Regions from separate parts of the Homo sapiens genome. Here regions 2, 3 and 4 are each linked to region 1. Evidence: promoter capture Hi-C in 16 types of primary human blood cells and fetal thymus (Javierre and others, 2016). All regions are on one chromosome and are shown on one strand. The core of a region is centred on a gene start or on the middle of the fragment in contact, and the rest is flanking DNA. Distances in the headings are between cores, read along the strand shown.

The links. Contacts are between HindIII fragments. The CHiCAGO score rates a contact against its expected background, and 5 or more counts as called.
Region 2: a contact is called between a fragment that was not itself captured here and the fragment with the promoter of CHD9 in region 1, in 1 of 17 cell types (neutrophils). The highest score is 5.2, in neutrophils.
Region 3: a contact is called between a fragment that was not itself captured here and the fragment with the promoter of CHD9 in region 1, in 1 of 17 cell types (neutrophils). The highest score is 6.3, in neutrophils.
Region 4: a fragment that was not itself captured here is called in contact with the fragment with the promoter of CHD9 in region 1 in 1 of 17 cell types (neutrophils); the score reaches 5.3 in neutrophils.

What each region holds. Positions count from the first base shown.
Region 1 is chr16:53,053,738-53,057,039 of GRCh38, reverse strand. It overlaps CHD9 (chromodomain helicase DNA binding protein 9), which reads right to left and starts at 2,049. Exons shown (of 39, transcript NM_001308319.2): 1 at 1,963-2,049. RefSeq lists enhancers at 1,662-1,711, 1,224-1,755. The HindIII fragment of the contact is 11,983 bases long and covers 1-3,302 here.
Region 2 is chr16:53,529,997-53,533,335 of GRCh38, reverse strand. No RefSeq gene overlaps it. Among named protein-coding and RNA genes, the nearest start is that of AKTIP, 28 kb to the right of the region's middle. The HindIII fragment of the contact is 3,655 bases long and covers 1-3,339 here.
Region 3 is chr16:53,405,312-53,409,134 of GRCh38, reverse strand. No RefSeq gene overlaps it. Among named protein-coding and RNA genes, the nearest start is that of RBL2, 27 kb to the left of the region's middle. The HindIII fragment of the contact is 2,408 bases long and covers 828-3,235 here.
Region 4 is chr16:53,486,054-53,489,361 of GRCh38, reverse strand. All of the region lies in intron 21 of RBL2 (RB transcriptional corepressor like 2), which reads right to left. Among named protein-coding and RNA genes, the nearest start is that of AKTIP, 16 kb to the left of the region's middle. The HindIII fragment of the contact is 1,885 bases long and covers 456-2,340 here.

The sequences.
Region 1 (3,302 bases), core at 800-3,299:
CATGCCTGGCCACAAACAAATTTTTTTTAAGAATTATTCAATGTGTATAATTTTTAAGCAAACAGGGCCTTGCTCTGTTGCACAGGCTGATCTGAAACTCCTAGCCTCAAGCGATCCTCCTGCCTCAGCCTCTCAAAGTGCTGGGATTACAGGGAAGAATTTGCAAATTTAGAACTTGTGAATAATGAGAATCTACTGCACTTTCTTCCTGTTTCTCTCATTCGGGGCTGGCTGAATTCTGTCTTACTCATATTTTATCTCTAGCATCTGGAAAACTGCCTGGCCCACAGTAGGCTCTCAATAATAAATGTATTTCCAATGAGCGAATGAGTCAATTCAGTGGAAGTGCTCAGCTCACAGCAGTGATAGCTAGTGTTTGTGAAGACACACCACGCGCCTGCCCCGTGCACGCTGTCCTGGTCAACAAGGGAAACAGCAGAGTATTGTTCTTTTGCACCTGAGCTCAAGAGCAGACTGCCTGGGTTCAAATATGGGACATGCTTCTTATTAATTAATTATATAACTTCGAGCAAGATCATTGGCCTCTCTGAGCCTCAGTTTCCTTGGCTATCAAATGCAGTATTCATAGTTCTACCGTGGAAGTTATGGTCAGGAGTCTAACTTGGCCCTGCACAGAAAGCCTCTAGCATAGGGTGAACCCTTAGTAAACAGTAGCTTTTATTGTGAATAATTCCCAAGGCAACCCGATTTTCACACCCATTTTGCAGATACAAAAACTGAAGCTGAGGATGGTTCAGTGAGTTTCCAAGGTCACAAAGGAAGGGCTGCCTATGGGGGGGAATCTATGCCCATGTTAGTAACACTGCTGTTATATAAACATAAGGGGTCAGCGGGGCGCAGCGGCTCATGCCTATAATCCCAGCACTTTGGGAGGCCGAGGCTGGAGAATGGCTTGAGCCTAGGAGTTTGAGACCATCCTGGGGAATATAGTGAGGCCCTATCTCTATAAAACAAACAAACATAAGGGCTCATTTTTACTAGTTGTAAAAGGGCCCTTTTACTAGTTGTAAAAAAGGCTCGTTATAAGGCCTCTCACTGCCTAATCAGCTAGGTTTGCCAAAATGAGGAAGACAGCTCCAGCCAGTCTCCTGATCTTCTCTGGGATCAGGGTGGGGAGGAACCCCCTTCCTACCCATAAACCCCTAAGAGTCTTCGCTCACATTCCACACTGGTGTCTTTCTGTTCCTTGTCCACTTTCGAGTTCAACCCTTTCAGAACCAGCCCTACTGTGGGGGGTGGGGGATGGTTAGTTTGTTATCTTGGGTTTGACAGTACAAAGGCAGAGGCATTTCCTGCTTAAAAGGCACATGAGAAAGGAGGAGGAGGGCGAACTGGAGGAATAGGAGGAGGAGGGAATCATCAGCATTCTGGGTTAGAACAAACAAATGTCCTCCGTTTTTCTCCAACTCCTTAGATCAAGGGTCCTCAAATTTGGCTGCCAGCTGGAATCTCTTGCAAACATTTTAATACCCAGATGTCCAGTCCCCCACCCAGACCAATCACATCTGAGTCTCTGGGGGGGGGCGGGGGTGGAACTAGGGCATCGGTATTTTTTTAATGCTTCCCAAGCAACGCCAACGGGCAGACAAGTTTAAGAAGTGGTGCTCTGGACCTTATCAGCACTCGGCTGCCACCCTGGAGTGGCTCTGGGCGACAGTGGCTGCTTTCCGCTTCGAGGACGCCCGGCTTGGGGATTCGGGCATGCTCTGGGAGGCGAGGGCTGGGGAGGATGCGAGCGTGCCAGCGACCTGGTGCTCTGCCTTGCTCTAGGCCCAGCTCCGAGGCTGCGGGTCTCTGGGTCCCCCCCACGGCTACAACACGTGCTGCCGCCCCGACTCCTCCGGTTATCTCTGCAGACCGCAAGCGGTGCCCAGCGGCCGCCCCGCTGTCCACCCCGACCTCAGAGGCTCCAGGGAGACGCCCGGGGCTCAGGAATCCTACCTTGGCTGCCGGCGCTGCCCTCCAGTCCCCGGAATCCTGGGACTCAGGTTCGAGCTGTCGCTGTCGCTGTCGCTGCGCCTGTGAAGCGCCCACTAGAGCGCAGGCGCCACCTAGTGGGCGCGGGGCGGCTGCGCAGGGACCGCGCTGGCAGGCGGGAGCGCAGTCCAGGGCGGAAATGCAGCCAGGGCTTCTTCCCACGTGGGCGGTTTTCCAGCGCGCCGCCAGCCCTGTGGCCAGATCCGGCCTGGGGCGGGACCACCTTCACCCGCTGCGGGGCACTGGGATCTAAACTTGGTGAACTTTCTCTTGGGGCACGGAGGGACCCCTCGGCCTGGTATCCATCCTCCGGTTTTCCGGGCTGAGCACAAGGATCTTTCCCTTCATCCAGCAGCTTTCAGTGCACCCCACCTTTGGCACTGCTTCTCTTTTAAATGTGCTGGGACCATCCGAGGCTGGGGTTCTCTCCAACCCAGGGAGGCCCTTCGCCTATCAGCAACCATTTTTTCCTGCCACCCCCTAAACCGTCCCTGAATGAGAGAAACAGCCTGCTCTGCTGGCTTGCTCTACAGAGGCCAGGACTGGTGGAGGATGGGTGTGTGCCAGCGACCTCGTGCTCTGCTCTGCTGGAAGGCCTTCTCTGAGCAGTGGAAGGGGAAGGGGCGGCTTAAGGGAATTGTGTTTTTTGTTTTTTGTTTTGTTTTGTTTTGTTTTTGTAGAGACAAGGTCTCTCTATGTTGCCCTGGTGGCTCTTGAACTCCTGGTCTCAAGCGATCCTCTCACCTGCAGCCTCCCAAAGCACTGGGATTACCGGAGTAAACTATGGCTCCCAGCTGCCTGGTATTCTTTCAATGAAGACATGCCAAAACGCTTACAAATATGGTGGACATTTAATGGTTTATATTTCATTTATGTCTTCATTTAACAACGATTAACTGAGCACCTACTATGTGCCACTTTTCTACAATCAAGGGATACAATGAAGAACAAAACACAAAAATCTCTGCTTTTGTTGAATTCACATTTAATGTAACACATGAATACTTTTAACACACCCAACGATCTAATGCAAAGCGATTGAGCTCGTTGTGAGATAAGTAGAGGATTTATTAAAAATATCTATATTTAGGGCCAGGCACCGTAGCTCACGCCTGTAATCCCAGCACTTTGGAAGGCTGAGGCAAGAGGATCGCTTGAGGTCAGGAGTTTGAGACCAGCCTAGCCAACATGGCAAAACCCAGTCTCTACAAAAAATACAAAAATTAGCCGGGCGTGGTGGCAGGAGCCTGTAATCCCAACTACTCCAAGGCTGAGGTGGGAGAATCCCTTGAACCCGGAAGGAG
Region 2 (3,339 bases), core at 511-3,010, 480 kb before region 1:
GTAAACTTTCTTAAAACATTATGAGATTTTTGGGGAATTTTTTTAAAGCTCATCAGCTATTGGTAGTGTTAGTGTATTTTTTATGTGTGAGCCAAGACAATTCTTCCAATGTGGTCCAGGGAAGCCAAAAGATTGGACACCCCAGCATTAGAGAAATACTTTAAAGGAATATAGGAGATTTGCCACTTCTCCCACATAAGTTCACATTCACATTATTCTTTTTTATTTATTTATTTATTTTTTGAGATGGAGTCTCGCTCTTGTCGCCCAGGCTGGAGTGCAGTGTCATGATCTCTGCTCATTGCAACCCCCATCTCCTGGGTTCAAGCGATTCTCCTGCCTCAGCCCCCCGAGTAGCTGGGATTACAGGCACCTGCCAATAATTTTTGTATTTTTAGTAGACATGGGGTTTTGCCATGTTGGCCAGCCAGGTCTCGAGCTCCTGACCTCAGGTGATCTGCCCGCCTCAGCTTCCCAAAGTGCTGGGATTACAGGCTTGAGCCACTGCGTCTGGCCCACATTCATTTATTCTACACAACTTCATTGAACGCCTACCAAATGCCTTGGATGCTCTGCTAGGACTGAGGGTGAGGATGAGTTAAGCAGACATATTCTCTACCCTCCTAAAACAGTCTAGAGGGAAGGGGAGGTGGCAAAAAGTGATTACAAGAACAACCTGGCTTAGTCCTGGTGGAAGGAACCTCTGAGCCACTTAACTTGGCTTTTGCACAATCGCACATAGATTTGCTCATTAAAGCCAAGTGTGGCTCATGGCATTGGCAACAGGATGGACAGTGGAGGCTTCTCAGATGCAGATCAGTATAGCTCTGAGTACCTCTTGAGAAAATGTAGCTCAGTGTCCATCACTACCCATGCACCGCTGGCGAAGCAAGGAGGGCCCCATAGATGGGGGGTCAGCCCAACAGCCTCTTACACCATTAGCATGGAAGAAGACACATTGTTTGAACAAATATATGCCTTTTTTCTTTGGCCTTTCTGAAAATGAGCCTCTCCCCAGCTGGCCAGAGGCATTGGTCATCTTCGGGGAGTGGGAGAGGTCACGCTTGTTTACAGTGGAAATGCAAGAGAAAGAATTATGCTCAGGTTTTGACATTCATAACTGGATTTTGCATGGCAAACCAGACTTGTCTTGAAGATTTCCTCCTTTTTTTTTTTTTTTTTTAAAGAAAAATGTACTCAGCATGTCAAGAGCTAGGCTAGGGAGCCTCAGTGCTTGGAGATCTCTCGTGTGGAGAAGACAGCCCTGTGTCCCTTGGGATATTCAGCCTGTTGCTCTGTGATAGAATATCATGCAGAAGAGTGGCTGTCACATATTTTTTCCATGACCCACAGCAAGACATTTGTGTGTGCACACAGACACGTACACAAAACAAATTTTAGAAAACAATTCTTAGCCTTGTTATGTGTGATATTTTCTCATTTTTAAAATTCTTTTTAAATTTGTATTAATGCTGGTCATAACCCCCTGACTTCAGTCACTCCCCCAGGAATGGGTCATGACTGGTAGCATGAAAACATTGAAAAACATTGGCAGATGCAGGAGGAGGAAGGTGAGAGAGACAGATGGGCGAGAGGTGAAGCTGGATGTGTGTCCTGACCTCTCTCCTTCACATCTTGGCTGGGAAAGGTGTAAGATAAAGGAATAAGAGGAGGCTAAAGGAAGAGGTTATCTCTGCCCCAATTCCCCTTAAGAACCTGGAAATAGATCCCCTGCTCGCTCTCCATCCAACTGGATGAGCAAAGTAGGGTGGGTAGTCGTGGTCCGGCAGAGGAGCTGCATGGGCTTTCTGAGCTGCCTTCCCCTCCCTCGAGGTGTGGACACAACCCAGGCACTTCCCTCTCAGAACAGGCCAGGAGACTCCACAGCAGATGAGGGAGGCCTAATGAGGCCAGAAGGCTGGGGGAGGGCAAGGCTGAGCCAGGCCCAGAGAGTGACCAGGCCGAGGGAGACCAGAGCATGAGTTCACCTGTTTAAGATGCCAGCGAGGTCAGTAGTAACCAGCAGACAAGGACACCTTCCACAAGAGCCAGGCACCTACAGCAGCACCCCCACGTCCCACCTCATTTACTCCAGCGCTGCCTCAGAGAGGAGCTTAGAAGCCAGAGTACCCGAATTATTTTCCCAAAAGAGGTAGAAAATCACCTAGAGAAGCTGTTAGTATTATTGTATAGGCTGGAGTGAGTTCAGCCTTTTTCTTCCCTCTTGTTTTGTACCAAATTGGCATTCATAAAGACTCAGTTCTAGGTAAAATAGCCATGTATCTATGCCCTGAGTCAGCCAGTGGAGTGCTGTTAAAATGTTTAAAAACAAGCTGTTAAATCAGCTTGAGGAGTCCTGATTTATAGTGCTTGCCAATTTCCATGGTGTAAATACTCCTGCTATGGCCAATTTCCGTGGTGTAACTCCACCCACCATGGCCAATTTCCATGGTGTAACTACTCCCACCAATTTCAAGCTACTGTAGAGGCCACTGGTTGCAGAGTTATCTTAAATGAGGCACAGTGGGCTCTGAGCCTGGACAAGCTGACTCTAGCCACTAGGCTCCCTGGCCACCCAGTCTCAGTAGGCAAGACTTCTGAATGTGCCCATGAGTCTGAGGGCCAGATCAACTTTCCAGCATAAATACTGCTTTCTCTCACACTGGTTTCACTTACTCTATGGAAATGGCTCTCTGCTTTGCGTGAACAGAACCTCATTGTGGACAAGTAGACTGCCCTTGTCTCCATTTTCTTCTTCAAGCCCCTCTTCCAGGAAAATTCTCAGGGTCTGTCTACCCACCCAGGACAATCTTTTGCGTGAGCCAGCCTGACTGACAGAATCGGAGCAAACCACCCCCTGAAGGGAGCTCCAGAGGTCATTGTGGCCAGCCCCCTGCCTCTAGGCAGATCTCCCCCTAAATCGTACTAGACAGAGCCTTCCTCGTCCTGGGCCATTTGCTCGGAGCTCCCTGAGCAGCTGAGTAAAGTTTTGTGCTGACTCCGTGGAGCTCTGACGACGGCAGGCGCTCCCGCAGCTCATAAGGGAATCATTAGTGAGATGTAGCCCTGAATGAGGGCCTGAAGGCCTGTGGCAATTAATCACCTTTCCTCACTCAGCAGCACCAGCTGTCTCAGATGCAGCCATCCTAGAGGTAGCCCTTTAATTGTCCCCGGAGAAGGCAGGTGGGTGAGGGGCCACCTGTGCTAGCGTTAGCCAGCAATCCTTCCAAATTAAAAAAAAAAGAATTTTTTTTTAGAGTATTCAAATATTTCTTCCTTACTTTCTAGAATCTGTTATTGGTATAAAGGTTGAAGCTCAGGCAGCTTAACTGTTACGTG
Region 3 (3,823 bases), core at 782-3,281, 350 kb before region 1:
GCATACAGACACTGTAAACGAACGTTTCAGCTTTATACCTCAATACTTCATTTTTGTGTGTGTGTGTACTGTTTTAAATAATGTTTTCTAAATTAAATTTCAAATTTTAATTGTTCTTTGTTATATATGACAACAATTGACTTTTGTATGTTATACTTGTATCTAGTGACCTTGATATACCCACTTAGGTCCAGAAGTTACATTCATTTCAATTTCCTACATAGACCATCATTTCATTTGTGAATAAAAATTGGCTTCTTCCTTTCCAATCTATATAATTTTTCTTCTTGTCTTATTTCCCTGGCTAAGACTTCCAGTATGATGTTGAGTATGAGGAGTTAGAGAGGACATATTTGACTTCTTTTTTTTTTTTGAGACGGAGTCTCACTCTGTCGCCCAGGCTGGGGTGCAGTGGCGCGATCTCAGCTCACAGCAACTTCCGCCTCCCAGATTCAAGGGATTCTCCTGCCTCAGCCTCCTGAGTAGCTGGGGTTACGGGCACCTGCCACCACACCCAGCTAATTTTTTGTACTTTTTAGTAGAGACGGGGTTTCACCATGTTGGTCAGGCTGGTCTCGAACTCCTGACCTTGTGATCCGCCCACCTCGGCCTCCCAAAGTGCTGGGCTTACAGGCTTCAGCCACCGCGCCCGGCCTTGACTTCTTAATAATCTTAGAAGGCAAATACTTAAGTCTCTTGCTATTAATTCTAACATTAGCCACAGACATCATACACATACTTTATTCAGGAAGTTCCTGTCTATTTGTAGTTGAGTGGGTTTCTTTAGATATTTTAATTACAAGTGGTGTTGAATTTTGTTCAAAGCTTTTTCTGCATCTGTTGATAAGATCATCCAGCTTTTCTTAGTCTTTTATGAGGAATATACGTATATATGTGTGTGTATATATATCCATATTTATTTGTGTGTATGTATGTATATTCTCAGCCACCTTTGCTGCTACAATGTATTAAAGGCCTTTGATAATTCCTTGTGCACTAGATCTCATCCCCTTCCACTCACTCAAATACTTTGTTTCTATAATAGTTTCCCTTTCTCTGGCATCTTCATTTTTTTCTCTTCCTGCACCATTCCAATCACCTCACAAGCATGCCATATGTACTATCTCCACCAAAACACACAGGTGTGCATGCACAAACACACACATACATATGCACCTCTCTGTATTAATCCAAGTTATCAATTTTTTACCCTACTTTCCTTTGTAGAAAAAATTATATGACTCATCTCTCAATTCTCTTGAGTCTACTCTAAGATTTTTGTCCCCACAACTCATCTGAAATCATTTTTGCCAAGGTCACAAGTGACCTCCACCTTGAGAAATCTAATGGACAATTCTTTTCCTCTTAAATTTGTTGACAGTACTTGACATGGCAAAGTTGCAAAAGCAACTCAATAGAAGAAGTATAGCCTTTTCAGTAAATGGTGATGGTGCAACTGGACATCCATAGGCCAAAGACATCCCTGTGTCTTTATCCTTCATTTGAAGGAAAGAGGACAGGGGAAACAGGATGCAGATATAATACTCTCCAAGTTTTCATACCTTCCTTCTCAGGCACTTTGCTGGGCTTGTTCTTCTTCTTTCACCCAACCTCCTAACATAAGAAAACATTAATCTTTAGTTCCTGTTAATGATCTTTCTGCTATTCATATTCGTGTTAATAAGTGATTCTATCTAGTCACAGGCATTAGTTAGATAGCATGCATATGAACAGAACACACCCCAAATTTATCATTCCTTCTCTGTATTCCATTGTTGAATTCCCACCAAAACTCAAAATGTCCACTGAAATCTCTAATTGGAACCTTATGCTTAATATGCTCCCAAACAAATTCTTGATTACAGCAATCCATTTTCACTAACATTCCCCTCCTTTAGTCCTATCCATCTCAGTTGATGTCAGCTTCTAGCTGCTGAGACAAAAATACTTAAAAATTACAATTCTTTCCACTTTCCCATACCCCTGCATAGCCAAGCCATGAAAAACTCTTATCTGCTCTAACTTTAATATATATTCCCAATCTTGCCACTTTTCATTATTTCTGACACTCGCATCCTTAACCAAGCTATAATTACCACTTGCCTGGAATAATTAGAATAGTTTCTTAATTGGTTTTTATTTACTTCTGTTCTTGCCTCCCTGCAGCCTATTCATACAGCAGCTAATGTGATCATTTAATGTAGAGCTCAGATGTAATGGCAAAATTTCTATACCACTTGGAACAAAATGCAAATGCTTGCAGGGATCCGGTGTCTATGCACTTTGATGCTCATTTCCTCTTGTGCTGCTCACTCTCCTCTATTCTGGCCTTCTGACGTTGCTTACTCTTCTCCTAGATTTTCCCTTGGCTCCTTCATTTACTTAATTCTGGTCTATGCTGAAGTATCTCTTTAAAAAGCACTTCCTAGAACACTCTAGCAAAAAAAAAAAAAAAAGCCCCTCTGGCCATACCCAGTCTCTTCACTCTGCTTTTTCTCCTTTGCACTTATTACTACCAAAAATTCTATCACATATCCACTTATTTACTTGCTTACTGTCTATTGTCTCTCATTAGAAAATATGCTTCATCTGGACGGTGGCTTTACCTGTGTAGCTTCATAACTATATTTCCTGAAGGGTTCCTGTCATACAGATGGCACTCAGATATTTACTGCATGACTAAATGAATGAATCAAAGGAGGGGCAAGAGACACAGGTGTGTTCCCATTCTCTAGTGTTTTTAAAACATACTGACACTACTTGTAAAAACAACAAAACAGCAAAAACAAGTTATAAAGAGTGTAGAAATTAGTAAATAATCATTGTGTACCCCCCTAAAAGATAAGAGTTCTTAAGGAAAGGTGGGGAACCTGTTGTACCCAAGTTATAAGAAAATGTGTCAGTGACTGTGGACAAAAGGGAAGTATGGCCTACAGCCACAATGTCTATACATTCTTATTAAATTATTAAAGTCCTGGAGTACTCAGATATATGAAGTCTTATTCAACCATGTATGAAACATACACAAAAATATTTCTGATCCTATATCGATACATCCATGAGATGGTGTTATATTTAAAATTATTGTAGAATTTCTGAATAACTAAAAAAGTCATTTGCTACATGCATATTTATGTGGATTTTTAAATATAGTTAACTAAAAAATTGGGAATTTCATGGGCAATTACACAAGTTATTCTAAAGCAAGATATTATAGTGGTAAATCTGTCAAGCTTTGGAATGAAAGTAAAAAAATGAAGTACCTCAAAGAATTTTCACTTATAATTCATAAGACATCTCTTCTTTTGAGAAGTATCTGTTCATGTCCTTTGTCCACTTTTTAATGGGATGGTTTTTTTTTTTTTTTGTAAGTTTGAAGTTCCGTATAGATGCTGGATATTAGGCCTTCACTAGATGCATAGTTTGCAAAAATTGTCTCCCATTCTGTAGGTTATCTATTTACTCTGTTGATAGTTTCTTTTGCTGTGCAGAAGCTCTTCAGTTTAATTAGATCCCATTTGTCAATGTGTACTTTTGTTGCAATTGTTTTTGACATCTTCTTCATGAATCTTTGCCCGTGCCTACGTCCTGAATGGTATTGCCTAGGTTGTCTTCCCATTATCTTTAGCAAACTAACACAGGAACAGAAAATGAAACACTGCATGTTCTCACTTATAGGTGGGAGCTAAATGATGAGAATACATGGAGAGAATAAAAAAAAATAACTAATGGGTACTAGACTTAATACCTGGATGGCGAGATAATCTGTACAACAAACCCCCATGACACATGTTACATAGGCATGTAACAAACCTCCACATGT
Region 4 (3,308 bases), core at 149-2,648, 430 kb before region 1:
AAGCAAATTCACAGATATCTATTATAGGAAATTGTAAACATACAAAAGTAGAGAAGCATAATGCATCCTCACATACCTATTCCTCTACTTCAGCATGTTTGGCCAGCCTTGTTTGATTTATACTCTGATTCACTTCCATTCCCCAGATTATTTTAAAACAAATCCCAGACATATTTTATCATGACACTTGTTATTTTTATTCTTTAAAGTAATAAATGTTTTGGGGGTTTTAATGAAAATCAGTGTTCTTTATTATCAACAGATGTACCTTCACAAGTGTTTTTCATTTTTTTTTTTTTTTTAATTAACAATAGAAATGGGGTTGCACTATGTTGTCCAAGCTGGTCTTGAATTCCTGGGCTCAAGCAATCCTCCTGCTTTGGCCTCCTAATGTGCTGGGAACAGGCATGAGCCACTGCACCTGGCCACAAAATCTTAAGCATCTGAAGAAAGCTTTCCTTCAATTCTTTTTCTAGCCCCCTTTCTGCCTTCCTAAGAGTCTGGTCTGCATTTGCTATCTCTGCAGTCTCCCATTTGCTTGAATATTTCTTACACTGTTTACTGTATACATTGTTAATTGTGTATAAGCAATGCTACCATAATTTATTTTTCAACAAGTCATACCAGTGCACTGACACTGCTCTGTCAAGTATCACTAATGATCAGTCTTCATCTTAACTGATCTTGTATAGTATTTGATAATTATTTTCTCATAGTAGTCTAAATGTTAGTACGTTATAGATTGGTTCTAGACATAAGCTACTTCTTGCTTTGTAATATTCTCCCCCTTCTTGCTTTGTAATATTCTCCCCGTAAGTTTCAGCTATCACCTATTACGTCAAGATGACAAATCTTTCTCCAACCAAGAGTCTAATAATCGCTATCATTTTACTGGACAGACTCCCAATTCTGTGCTAGAAATACCTACAGTCGGATAAAACTGTTCCTCTGAAAAAATCCCTCATACTCCCTTGTCAGCCTATCCCAAACCACCACTGATGTTCTTGTCCAATAGTTTTGCCTTTTCCACAATGTCACAGAAATGGAATCATAAGTAGCCTACTGAATCCAGTGTCTTTCACTTAAGCATTGATGCATTTGAGATTTATCTACATTGAATATATCAGTTCCTTTTTATTGCAAAGTAGCAGTCGATTGTCTGGATGCACCACAGCTTATTTATATGCATTCACCAGCTGAAGGACGTTTGGGTTGTTTCCCACTTTTTGGCAATTAGGAAGAAAGTCACTATAAACAGTCATGTACGTGATTTTGTCTAAACATAAGTTTCCATTTCATTTGTGTAAATACCTAGGAATGAGATTGCTGGTTGTATAATGGTATGTTTAAGAAACAACTTTCCACAGTGGCGATGCCATTTTGCGTTCACACCAGCAATATGTAAAATTGTTCCACATTGTTGTCAGAACTTACGATTTGTCACTTTTTGGATTTTAGCCATTCTAACAGGCATGTAATGGGTGAAGTGTGTTCAAATCTTTTGCCCACTTTTACATTTGGTGGTTTTCCTACTGAATTTTGAGAATTCTTTAGATACTGTAGATATACAAATGCTTCATCAGATATGGAACGTGTACAGATTTTCTAATAGTCTATGGCTGGTTTTTTAATTCTCTTAACAGTGTCTCAAATAGCAGAAATTATTCATTTTGATAAAATCCATTTTAACAGTATTTTACGGATTGTGCTTTTGATGTTGTATATAAAATTTTCCCATAAAACATGTTCACTAAGATTTTCTGTTGTCTTCTAGAGGTTTTGTAGTTTGAGATTTTACATTTATGTCTGTGGTTCATTTTTAGTTTTTGTATATAGTGCAGGGTATGGGAACAAGTTTACTATTATTTTGTTATATGCACATCCAATTGTTCCAGCACCATCTGTTGAAAAGGCTATCCTTTCTCTACCAAATTGCCTTTGCACCTTTGTTGAAAATCAGTTTACCATACATGTGTTGTCTATTTCAGGACTCTGTTCTGTTCTATTGATCTCTGTGTCTATACTTCCACCAACACTACTGTCTTGATTACTGTGGTGTTATAATACAGATATTTTGTGTACCTTCATAATTAGTGTGAATCCTCCACCTTTGAATTATTTTAGCTATTCGAGTTCTTTGCCTTGTAAATGACAAATTTTAGAATCAGTTTTTTACATAAATCTGTTTGGATTTTGACTGAAATTGGTTTGAAATTATAGATCAATTGGGAGAAAACTGCTGTTTTATTTTCCATGAATTGGAAACTAAGGTATTATTTTCATTCAATGTCATGAACACATTTCTGTATCTTCTCAGGCTTTAATTTCTCTCACCAAGCTTCTATAGTTTTCAGGATATATGTGTTGCATAGTTTTTATCATACCTACCCCTAAGTAATTTTAAAATGTTATGGTATTCAATTTTTTATTTTACTTCTGATTGTTCACTGCTAGCATATAGAAATACATTTGATTTTTGTATGTTGATCACATAACCTCCCTTATTAGTTCCAGTAGCTTTTTGTGGATTCTTTGTGATTTTCCTATGTAGACAATCCAGGCTGTATGGCTTTTCTTGTCTTATTGCACATGCTAGGACTCCCAGTTACAATGTTGAACAGGGGTAGTGAGAGTGGACATTGTTGCCTTGTTCTTGATCACAGGGGCAAGGCATTCAGTCTATCACCATTAAGTATGATATCTGTAGATGCTTTTGGTAAATGTTTACCAAGCTGAGGAAGTTCCTTGAGAGTTTTTACATTAATGAATGTTGGATTTTGTCAGATGCTTTCCTTCAAACACTAAGATCATTTATCACCTTCACTTTTTGGGAGAGTTTCTATAGAATTGGCATTATTTCTTCCTTAAATGTTTGGTAGCATTTACCAATGAAGCCATCTGGGCCTACAGTTTTCTCTGACAGGAGGTTTTTAAACCACAAATTAATTTCTTTAGTAGATACAGGGGCTACTGAGACTACTACTTGAGTTTTATTAGTTTGTATCTTTCAAGAATTTGTCTATTTCATGTGCATTGTCACATTTATTGGCATTAAAGTTTTGAAACAGGGTCTCACTCTGTTGCCCAGGATGGAGTGCAGGGGTGCCATCACAGCTCACTGCAGCCTTGACCACGCAGGCTCTAGCAACCCTCCCACCTCAGCCTCCCAAGTAACTGGGACTATAGGCACACCTCACCAACCCCACCACACCTGGCTTTTTTTTTTTTTTTTTTTTCAGAGACAAGGTCTTGCTATGTTGCCCAGGCTGGTCTTGAACTACTGGGCTCAAGGATCCTTCTGCCTTGGT